3 separate regions of the Homo sapiens genome follow, and regions 1 and 3 are each linked to region 2. The links are contacts of gene promoters, found by promoter capture Hi-C in blood cells and fetal thymus (Javierre and others, 2016). All regions are on one chromosome and are shown on one strand. Each heading gives the region's core, a stretch centred on a gene start or on the middle of the fragment in contact. The rest is flanking DNA. Distances are from core to core; before and after follow the strand shown. Region 1 holds the start of DHH (desert hedgehog signaling molecule). Region 2 holds the start of SPMIP11 (sperm microtubule inner protein 11). Region 3 holds the start of ZNF641 (zinc finger protein 641).

The links. The method cuts DNA at HindIII sites, captures the fragments that hold promoters and counts their contacts. A CHiCAGO score of 5 or more calls a contact.
Region 1: the fragment with the promoter of DHH here is called in contact with the fragment with the promoter of SPMIP11 in region 2 in 1 of 17 cell types (non-activated CD4 T cells); the score reaches 5.1 in non-activated CD4 T cells.
Region 3: a contact is called between the fragment with the promoter of ZNF641 here and the fragment with the promoter of SPMIP11 in region 2, in 1 of 17 cell types (non-activated CD4 T cells). The highest score is 5.0, in non-activated CD4 T cells.

What each region holds. Positions count from the first base shown.
Region 1 is chr12:49,093,083-49,096,796 of GRCh38, reverse strand. It overlaps DHH (desert hedgehog signaling molecule), which reads left to right and starts at 1,996. Exons shown (of 3, transcript NM_021044.4): 1 at 1,996-2,587. The coding sequence starts at 2,285. DHH-AS1 (DHH antisense RNA 1) reads right to left here. Exons shown (of 4, transcript XR_007063295.1): 3 at 2,609-2,675; 4 at 1,053-1,396. The HindIII fragment of the contact is 10,631 bases long and covers 1,772-3,714 here.
Region 2 is chr12:48,725,446-48,728,903 of GRCh38, reverse strand. It overlaps SPMIP11 (sperm microtubule inner protein 11), which reads right to left and starts at 1,469. Exons shown (of 4, transcript NM_001351123.2): 1 at 1,345-1,469. The coding sequence starts at 1,423. The HindIII fragment of the contact is 5,202 bases long and covers 1-1,658 here.
Region 3 is chr12:48,349,039-48,352,947 of GRCh38, reverse strand. It overlaps ZNF641 (zinc finger protein 641), which reads left to right and starts at 2,029. Exons shown (of 6, transcript NM_001172681.2): 1 at 2,029-2,162. RefSeq lists silencers at 1,519-1,598, 1,879-2,308 and enhancers at 1,274-2,010, 2,449-2,518. The HindIII fragment of the contact is 6,093 bases long and covers 1-3,909 here.

The DNA of each region.
Region 1 (3,714 bases), core at 747-3,246, 370 kb before region 2:
TGGATATAGAGTAAAATAAGTGGCTGGCTGACAAGGATTTTCATTTCCTACCTGAGAGAAGAATCTAGCTTTTTACTAGAGGCCATCAGTTTCTTGAAAAGCCCATGTGCTATGTTGGGAGTAAGAGCGCAAAACTTAGGCTTATACAGATTGTGTATTGCACAGCTTCCAGGGACACCATTCACCTCATAGTCATTGTGTGGATAGTTACTATGATAGTTTTCTAATAAATGTCAGTCATCTTGAGGAAGGGGTGCTTTTTTTTTCTTTTTTCTTCTTCTTTTTTTTTTTTTTTTTTTTGTGAGACAAGGTCTGGCTCTATCACCCTGGCTGGAGTGCAGTGGTGCAATCTCAGCTCACTGCAACCTCCGCATTCTGGGCTCAAGCCATTCTTCCAGCTCAGGCTCCAGAATAGCTAGGACAACAGACACATGCTACCATGCCTGGCTAATTTTTGTATTTTTAGTAGAGATGGGGTTTTGCCATGTTGCCTGGGCTGGTCTTGAACTCCTGAGCTCAAGTGATCCACCTACCTTGGACTCCCCAAATGATGGAATTACAGGGGTTAGCCACAACACCCAGCCATCTTTTTTTTGGGGGGGGGGGTCCTCACTCTGTCACCCAGGTTAGAGTGCAGTGGCATGATCTTAGCTCACTCTACAGCCTTGAACTCTTGCACCCAAGTGATCCTCCTTCCTCAGCCTCCTGAGTACCTAAGACTACAGGCATGTACCACTACCTCCCACTAATTAATTTTTTTTTTTTGAAACGGGGTGTCACTATGTTGACCAAGTTGGTCTTCAACTCATGGCCTCAAGCAGTCCTTGCCTCGCCCCCAAAGTGTTGGGATTACAGGAGTGAGCCACTGTGCCTGGCCTGGTTTTTTCTGATGTACACAAAGTTGCTATGAGTACTAGCCATAGAGTGTGGTGAGGGGAGGGTGAATATGAAACACAAAGTGTAGATTCCACAAATGCTTGCAAAGCACCCTTCTGTAGAGTAGGCACTTAACCTTGGAGATACATGATAAATATGTGTGTGCTTAAGATTGCTTTGTCTAGTAAGGTGCCAGATAATTCTAATACTGTTCTAACACTGCAGTTAAGTAATGGTTCTCGAGGGAACACAGGTGGGCAGTGTTGGGACATCAAGGAAGGCTTCTTAGAAGAAATGACTTCTAAACAAAAGAAATTGGACGTGGTGCCTCTGAGATGAGATCTGAGTGGCTGAAAATGGAGCCCCGGGAGTCCAGAGAGGGAGAAAGCTGGAGAGGTGCCTAGATGGACGGTTAAGGGAAGTGATCCTCACCTCTTACAAAGACTTTTGAGTGTCCACTGCCCTTCAGCAGCTTCCAACTGAGAAGTCATTCATTTGAAAAACAGCAGCTATTAGATGCCTGGCAAAGAAGAGAAGGGGAAAAAAGTTGGAAGTCCTAAATGAGACAATAAGTACCAAGCTCTGTTCCTGGTTCTGGGGAAGTTCCAAAGGAGACTGCAAAGTTAGTAGAGAAATGGGCCCCTGGTATCCTCACCTCCCAGTCCTGCTTAATGCTGAATGTGAGGAGAGATGGAAGTCGGGGAGATCTGGGGAGGACTACAGAGAAGGGAGGCTCTGGTTGTATGCCCAAAGGGCTTGGCTGGTCTTGGGCAGAAATTGGAACCCATACTTCCTGGATGACAGCGGAGGGCATGGCCTGCCAGGGTAGGCTTTGAGAGAGTAAAAATTCCAATTCAAGTATCAGAGGAGGGTGGTTTGGTTCCAAGTTTAAGCTTGGAGGTAGAAGGATGTTTAGGCAGCCAAGGACTGTAAAGCTACAAGTATTTCCTAGGCAGGTGTCTGCCTGGTTTCCAGGATGGGACACACTTCAGTCGCAAAATGGACCAGCAGTGACCGGCTAGATCCCCCGCCCGGGTGGGAGGGGGTGGGACGGTCTTGGGAGAAGGGCGGAGGGCGGGGCCAGGGGCCACTTAAGGCGGAGTCCGGAGTCCGGGCGTTCTGGCAGCACCAGAGTCCTGCAGCAGAGACGGGCTGGGCTGGCACTCACCCACGACCCCCCTTCCCTGCTATGATGGTTTGTCAGTAGCAGGTCCTAGACACCCCCCGCCCGCTCCCGGGGCACGTGGGCAGAGCTAGCAGCAGCCAGGTGCACGGAGCCACAAGAGCTCTAGGGCACTCTGGGGGCAGCTGTGCCTGCTGCCCTCTCTGGTGCCTGTGGAGATGCCTAACTGACAGGAGAGTTAGTGAGGACAAGAACGCTCCCTTTTGGCCGAGGTCCGCTGTATCCATGGCTCTCCTGACCAATCTACTGCCCCTGTGCTGCTTGGCACTTCTGGCGCTGCCAGCCCAGAGCTGCGGGCCGGGCCGGGGGCCGGTTGGCCGGCGCCGCTATGCGCGCAAGCAGCTCGTGCCGCTACTCTACAAGCAATTTGTGCCCGGCGTGCCAGAGCGGACCCTGGGCGCCAGTGGGCCAGCGGAGGGGAGGGTGGCAAGGGGCTCCGAGCGCTTCCGGGACCTCGTGCCCAACTACAACCCCGACATCATCTTCAAGGATGAGGAGAACAGTGGAGCCGACCGCCTGATGACCGAGGTAAGGAGGGCCTCTCCCTACCTGCGCCGGGGCACTGCCAGCTCCTCCGTTTTCCTATGGCAGCCCAGGTGGGTGAGTCCAGCTTCACCTACAGAGAGTTTAGCCTTAGAGATTTCCCTTGTCACCAGCCCCAGGGGGGGGAAAAATCCTTGCAGTCTGGACAGAGTAATTAGGACGGCTCCCGACTAGAATAGTCTGGGATGGGGAGGGGAGGAGGGACTGACTAGTGAGAGTGAAGCTGGTAGAGGCAGCGAGGGCGGGGAAAGGAGGATGGCGGCAGGCGAGACGGGAAATGGCTGAGGCGTGGACCGGGGGTCAGCCACCCAGCCAGGCAGGAAGGGCTGGGGTGAGCTGGGGGCCAGGAGCTGGCTAGGTAGCAGACAGAAGCCTGGCTCCTGACCTGATTGTAGAAAAGCTCTGTGGGCCGAAAAGAAGAGACTGAAAAGGGCTGGGACAGGGGTGGCCAAGGGTCAGGTCACCAGACCATCTACCTGAGGAGGGGCTGGGCAGACATTGCTTTTGGCATGGGAAACGTGTCCTAGAACCAGGACACATCTATTCTAGGGTCTATTCTAGGGCTATCCTAGGGTCTAAACGATAATCTTGGGGTTAAAAAGTAATCCTCAGTGAGAATAACAGATGGACCCACCTGAGAATCAGAGGGCTCCTAAGTCTTCCAAGCTCTGCCTATCTCAGGGGCTTTCCTTGGAATTACATAATTAGGATAAATTCAACTACCATTTTTGAGCATTGGAACCACCTAGAGTGAGGTGGAAGAGAAGGACCACCTCTGGCGAGTGATTTATTTTTTATTTTTTGTAGAGACGGGGTCTTGCCATGTTGCCTAGGCTAGTCTTGAACTCCTGAGCTCAAGGGATCCTCCCACCTCGGCCTCCCAAAGTGCTGGATTACAGGTGTGAGCCACTTCATCCAGCCTGGCCAGTGATCTTGAATGTTAGAACTGAAAGAAAACTTGAGAGATGACATTCCTCCAACCCTCCCCACCCCCACTGCCACCCTCATTTTACATCTGAGAGCTGGACTTCCCCCAGGAGGAAAAGCAATTTAAACTCTCACAATTTAAAGTGGCATGGCTGGGACTAGAATTCAGGACTCCTGATTCTAAG
Region 2 (3,458 bases), core at 220-2,719:
AATGCTTAGCATGGCTAACAGCATCCTCAATTATCTGGCCCCTTCCTAGTTTTCAACGTCTGCCTCCCAGCACCTCTCCACTTTACCCTTTATGTGTACCCACGAACTTGGAATTCACTTAATATGGTTCTCTCTTAGGTCTCTGTTCCTTTGTCTGTGCTATATCCCCTTCTTTTTTTTTTTTTTTTTTTTTTTTGAGACAGAGTCTCGCTCTGTCGCCCAGGCTGGAGTGCAGTGGCTCGATTTCAGCTCACTGCAAGCTCCGCCTCCCGGGTTCACACCATTCTCCTGCCTCAGCCTCCCAAGTAGCTGGGACTACAGGCGCCCGCCATCACGCTCGGCTAATTGTTTGTATTTTTAGTAGAGACGGGGTTTCACCGTGTTAGCCAGGATGGTCTTGATCTCCTGACCTCGTGATCCGCCCGCCTCGGCCTCCCAAAGTGTTGGGATTACAGGCGTGAGCCACCGCACCCGGCCATCCCCTTTTTAGTGAACGCCAATCATCCTTTAACACCCAGTTCTGGAAGCATTTCCTGTGTGAAGTCTTCTCTGAAGGATTCCCCCATCCTCCACTCCCCCGTTCTTATTCCAAATCCAATAGTATCAGGTACTTCCTTCTTAGTGGCTCTAGAACATTCCATATTTAATGTAATCATACAATATATTGCAATTTTTGTTTGCACACTTATCTTTCTCATCAGATAGTCACTTTATAGCAGAGGTCTTAACCCTAGTCACCAACATAATGCCAGGCACATAAAGCCTGGTGCTTAACAAATGTTGGTTAAATGAGCCAACGAATGACTAAGAATACACTTATTTGGTTGAACAAATTGTGTGTCTTTTTTTTTTTTTGAGATGGTTTCGCTCTGTCGCCCAGGCTGGAGTACGGTGGTGTGATCATGGCTCACTTCATCCTTGACCTCCTGGGCTCAAGTGATTCTCCCACTTCAGCCTCCCAAGTAGCTAGGACCACAGGCATGCACCACCACACCCAGCTAATTTGTGTAACTTTTCATAGAGATGTGGTCTTACTATGTTGCCCAGGCTGGTCTTGAACTCCTGGACTCAAGCAATCCTCCTGCCTTAGCCTCCCAAACTGCTGGAATTGCATGTGAGCTACTGCACCTGGCCCAAATTGTGTGTCTTAATAAGGATATTAAATGACAGGAGAGCAAAGCTGAAAGGATATTGTCCCTATTCCACAATTTTAACTAGTGTAACTGTTGGCCTTGGAGGATAAATCTCTAACCCCAGGTAGGAAAATAAATAGCTAGGAAGTGGCTATGAAGCATCTAGGTAAAGAAGTGGCCCTTCTAACCCTCTACCCTATATTCCCCTTACTTGTTTCTTCAGTTGTGTTCCTTTTCTTGTTCTGAAAGGAATTTTGATATCCCAATAGATACAAGTTGAAGAAGGCCATCTCAGATCCTCCCTGGCCTCTTCTGGAACGTCCAGGTTGGGGCACTGGACTCTGTGCCTGGTAACCATGGTAATGTCCTAAGAATTACCACAACTGACACTCCCTTTGTCTAATGAGGCACAGGATTTATAGGTTCACAGTGGAGCTGGAGTGGGAGTGGGCTAAATAACTTCAGGAAAATGGAGGAATCAATTGTCAGTACACCTTTTCTTGACCTAGTCTTCCAGTGTAAGCTTCAGAAGGCAGTGAGTAGAAAGAGCACCGACCTGGGCTCATATCTTAGTTATGCCATATTCTAGGTGTCTGACTTTGAATAGATTAACTAAGCCTCCATTTTCAATTTTAAATTAAAAAAATGACAATGACAATATCTGACAGTTATGAGAATCAAATGAGATAATATATGCATATTTCCTTAGAACGGTGTTCAACACATAATGGAAACTTAAATTTTTTTTTTTTTTTTTTTTTTAAGAGTCTCCCTCTGTTGCCCAGGCTGGAGCGCAATGGCGCTTTCTCGGCTCACTGCAACCTCTGCCTCCAGGTTTCAAGAGATCCTCATGCCTCAGCCTTCCGAGTAGCTGGGATTACAGGGGCGCGCCACTACACCTGGCTAATTTTTGTATTTTTGGTAGAGACAGGGTTGACCAGCCTGGTCTTGAACTGCTGACCTCAAGTGATCTGCCCTCCTCGGCCTCCCAAAGTGCTGGGATTACAGGTGTGAGCCACCACGCCCCACCAGTATTTAAATGTTAATAGTTATCCAGCCTTATATTCAGGAAAAAAAAGAAATCTGAATAGGATACTTTCAATGAGTCTTTGTTTCAGCAGTGGTGTGCCAATCCATAGTGACTTTTGAAAGCTTGTTAAATTTTCATTGATTTTGTGAATTGGTTGTTAAACAAGGCATTATTAAAAATCAAATTAACTAAACTTACAATTGAATGTTATATTAAAAATAAAGGTAGTACATCGGGTGTGGTGTCTCACACCTGTAATCCCACCACTTTGGGAGGCCGAGACAGATGGATCTCTTGAGCTCACAAGTTTGAAATCAGGCTGGGCACCATGGTGAAACCCTGTCTCTACAAAAAAATAAAACCCACAGAAATTAGTTGGGTGTGGTACGTGACTGTAGTCTCAGCTACTTGGGAGGCTGAGGTGGGAGGATGGCTTGAGCCTGTGTGGTGGAGGTTGCAGTGAGCTGAGATTGTGCCATTGCACTCCAGACTGGCAATAGAGCCAGATCTTGTCATAAAATAAAATAAAAGTAGTAAATACTAACAAGTCATCTCTTCCTGATTATTTTACTCTTATCTATGCTCATGAGTTTATTTACTTCCATTGCATCTGGATATTCCACTCTTTTTTCATTCGTTTTTCTCTTTGTTTTTCCGTTTGGGAAGTTTCCTATTGACATATTTTCAAGCTCACTGATTTTTTTCCTTTGTCATGCCCAGTCTACTGATGAGCCCACCAAAGGCATTCTGCATTTCTGTTACAGTGTTTTTTATTTCTAGCATTTCCTTTTGATTCTTTAGAGTTTTCATCTCTCTGCTTACGTTGCCCTTTGTTCTTGAATGTTGTCCTCTTTTTCCATCCTTTGTTCTTGAATGTTGTCCTCTTTTTCCATTAGTGTCCTTAACATGTTAATAGTTATTTTAAAATCTCAGTCTGATAATTCCAAAATTTCTGCCATATGTGAGTCTGGTTCTGATGCTTGATTTGTCTTTTTTGAGATGGAGTCTCACTCTGTCGCCCAGGCTGGAGTGCAGGGGCACGTTTTCAGCTCACTGCAACCTCCGCCTCCTGGGTTCAAGCAATTCTTCTGCCTCAGCCCCCTGAGTAGCTGGGATTACAGGTGTCTGCCACCTTGCCTAACTAATTTTTTATTTTATTTTTTTATTTTTATTTTTTTATTGATCATTCTTGGGTGTTTCTCGCAGAGGGGGATTTGGCAGGGTCATAGGACAATAGTGGAGGGAAGGTCAGCAGATAAACAAGTGAACAAAGGTCTCTGGTTTTCCTAGGCAGA
Region 3 (3,909 bases), core at 780-3,279, 380 kb after region 2:
CTCCTGACCTTGTGATCCGCCCGCCTCTACCTCCCAAAGTGCTGGGATTACAGGCATGAGACACTGCACCTGGCTTTTTTTATTTTTTGGAAACAATCTCACACTGATTTGTTTCCCAAAACAGTCGAGGAGAGTTTGGGCTATTATAATATCTATCAGTTCTTTCCAAACATTCTTTTCAGGTAAAGTCAGGTTTACGTACTTGGTTATGTTCAATTTAACTCTGTGTGACGAGGCAATGCTGTGTCCAGCAGCGCCCATTTCCTTTTCCATGAGGCACACATTCTTTACTTCCCAGCCACCCTTCTGGGTAGGGCCATGTGACCATGCGCATGAGTTCTGGCTAAGGGAATGGGGTGAAAATGATACACACCACTTCCAGGACTGGCCCCTAATATCTCTGACAAGTTAACCACGGCCAGCCTCCCTTATCTGAGGGCCACAGATTTGACTACATTACCAAGGCCTCGGCATGGGAGAACCACCAAATGCAAGAAGCCTGGTCCTTCAATGAATTCAAGAAGTACAGACCCCACCCTCTGGCCCCAACCAACTTGTTACCACACTGTGACTTGTATGAACATAAGCCTTTATGGAGTTAAGCCCCGAGATACTGGTTTTGCTAGCCTACTCCAATTAACGCACCTTATATTTACCACCAGTGGTAGCATAAGTGAAAAGAACCCCTGGACTTAGTTCCAGGACCCGGGATAAAAATTCTGGCTCTACTACTACCCCGACATATCCCATGATCTGCTCCTAGAATATGCTCTATACTCTTCCCAACTGCGTGTCTACTGCATTTTCCTCTTTCATTAGACAGCCCTCCTGACTCTTCTCTGCCTCACGATTTCTGTCAGAGTGGGGGGCCTTCTCTGACCTCCGTCCCATACGTGGTCACTTCTCTTTGCTTCAAGTGCAGCGTACGTTCCTCTGTTTTAGAATCTACGTTTTTATTGCAAATATTTGTTGACATGTGCTTCCCCAGACTGTGAATCCTTTAACTCCCAGCATTTAGTTACAGTGTCTGGCACACGTAGAAAATAAATATGCATTAAACGAATGATTGTCACATATGACCTTAAGTGAGTCAATTATTTTTTAAGTCTACTAAATAAAATTTTTGAAAATTGTTGTAATGATGAAATAAGGAATGTGAATGTGACTTGTAGGTTATAAACAGATTCTAACAGCAATGGGTTTACTCACTGTTTGTAGGCCCTTCTCATCTTTTCTAGTCAAATCCATCTTAATGCTGCAAGGTAGCACTATCCAATAGAAATATAATGCAAGCCATATTTATAGCCACATTTAAAAAGTTAAAACCAGGTGAAATTAATTTTAATATATTTAACCCAATATACCCAAAATATCACTTTTTAAATTAAATCTTCTAAATCTTGGAACACATCTCTATTCAGACCAGCCACATTTCGAGAGCTCAGGTGTCACCTGCGGCTACGGCTCCCGCAAATGGGACAGCAGCCGCAAGGCCAACTTCAGATAGCAACCTGACTTCCCCTCAGGCAGAATAAGTGACTCCTCCTCAGTGCTCTCTCAAGCCCTTTATCCTATCGTGAAAACTAGAGGGTACGCTCCTTGAGGAATTCCAGACTGTTGTCTGGAGAAATCGCTCTCGGCCTCGGTCTGGCCTGTAACGGGCGGTTACGCAATTCCAGGTAATTGACGAACCCTGAGGACAGAACTCCGTGGGAGGCCCAGTAGCCAGAGCGGAAAATGGTCAGTCAGGCAAGAGTGCGGGCAAGTGGCCACAGCAGGCTGCGATTCCGGCGCCCGCCGCCCTCCAAGCGTCTCGGGCCGCACCCTCCCCACAGCGGCGGGCGCGGAGGTCCCGGGTTCGCGTTTGGGGGCGCCTGAGCCGCAGCCCCGCCCCCTCCCGTCCCTCCCTCCCTCCCTCCCTCCCACTCCTCTCCCTCCCACTCCTCTCCCTCCCACTCCCCGCACCTCCGCCGCCGCAGAGCCCCGGAAGCGGGCGGGGATTTCCTGTGCCCGCCCCGCCCCGCCCGCGCCTGCCGGGCCGCCGTCTCCGCCTGTCGCTGGCTCCGCCGGCCGCCGGCTCCCAGACGCAAGCGGAGGGCGGAGGGGAGGGGCAGGCGGCGCCCGGGAGGGAGGCACCGGGCCGCGGGCCAAGCCTACCGGGGGTGAGTGGAGCCGGGCCGGAGGGAGCTGCGGCTGGAGGGAGGGACGCCTGGCTTCCCGGGGCGGCTGGTGGGGGCTCGGTCACCCATAGGGGCTGGGAGGAGGATCGGCGCGTCTTCCGGGTTGCTGCCTTTCCCGGGGGTCTGCCCCGCTGACATTCTGTGCCCGCCTCTCGCCCTGTCTCCCCGTGCCCATCGCAACTGTCAGGCCCTGCGGGCTCCCGCCGCTGTCACTCGCGCACAGGTTACCCCGTGGCTCCCTTTCTCTTCACTTGCTCATGCCCCAGCTCATGGGAAACCTGTTTTCTGACCTCACTTCCCCTGCTCCAGTTCTGCCTTGCTCGGATTCTCTGAAATCTGACCCTTTCCAGGGGCACTGTGACAAGAAGAAGGGAAGAAGCAACCTTACCCCTGAGCAGGCTCCCGTCCCGCCCATGCCCTACCCGTGGCAGGGGCCAGGGTTCTCTGATGGACGGAGCCAACTCGTCCGTGTGCCCTTGGGCTACTCATTTTTATAACATGGCCCCTTTTCTGTTCATCAGCACTGGCTGCAGAAACTTCCTTTTGCAGGTCCCTTGCTACCCATATGTGTGAAGAAAAGGGGGAAATGAAAGCCCTAGAACCCACACTGCAGTGGGCATGGGATCATCCTGGAACCAGGAGAAACGAGGTTAGGGCTACCACCTTAACCGCCCAGGTGCTGGCTCTGCGTGAATATCTTAGGAAATGCAAGCTGAGGACAGGTACCCATCCCATCCTTTGCTGAGATTTTTGCTAGCACTTCCACGGATTTCTGTCAGTGGTATAGAAAAACTTACAGCTGGCCCAATGGGCTCTGCACAAAGAGGCTTCCCATTAAGAGACTCTGCTACCTGGGGGAGATGGAGAAAGGGTTTGAGACAAGTGTCCAGATATGTAGCTAGAGGTAAAGCCTTCAGGGAGGATTTGCACAGGAGCTAGAGAACCAGAAAGATGGGACGAAGAGGGAGAATTAGTGCCCTGTGTGTTAAAAGTGGATACAGAGCTGGAATTCAGAGAAGAGAGCTAAAATGGAAGTTTCCCTTTATTGCTTTAGCAAGAATTTTCCTTTCTCATGAAAAGTCTCTGAAAAGGAAACCTCCTAGGCTGGGAATCAGTCCAGGGTGCTCCCATGAGGCCCTGAGCCATCTTTGGACTTCTGAGATAAAAAGGGAATTTGTTTTTCCTGTGCATTGGGCTTAGGGTTCCCACCTACCTCTTTTGTCAAAGACAAATAGGCAAGAAAATAGACGACTTGACATCTGTGATTACCTACCCTGGCCTTCAAGGTTCTTGCAAGTGTTATTGAAAGGATGTAAGTAAGCCAGGATAGTTACCAAGTTTCTGACTGCTCTTGGAAGCCTTTCACTGACTCTGACTGTTTGGATATTGAATAAGAATACCCAAAATATGTTGCCAAACAGAAAGAGATTCTGAGTCTCAGATTATTTCTCTGCCATAAAGCCCTATCACAACAGAAGTGTGACCCATCCTGCTCTTAAGTTGTCTAAAGAAAAAGAAGAGCCCACTATCTGGTATTGTACACTGCAGGATTATTAAGAATTAAAAAAAAATAACCTAAATCTCTTCTCTTGCAATCAAGACCCATTTTTTTCTGTTTGACCTATATAGAGATAGAAGGGACCTCTGTTTTTATTCATTAGTAGCATCATTCATCAGCCTTCTTCTCCAGACAGAGAAAACTACATCCGACATTTTTAACTTTCCCAGT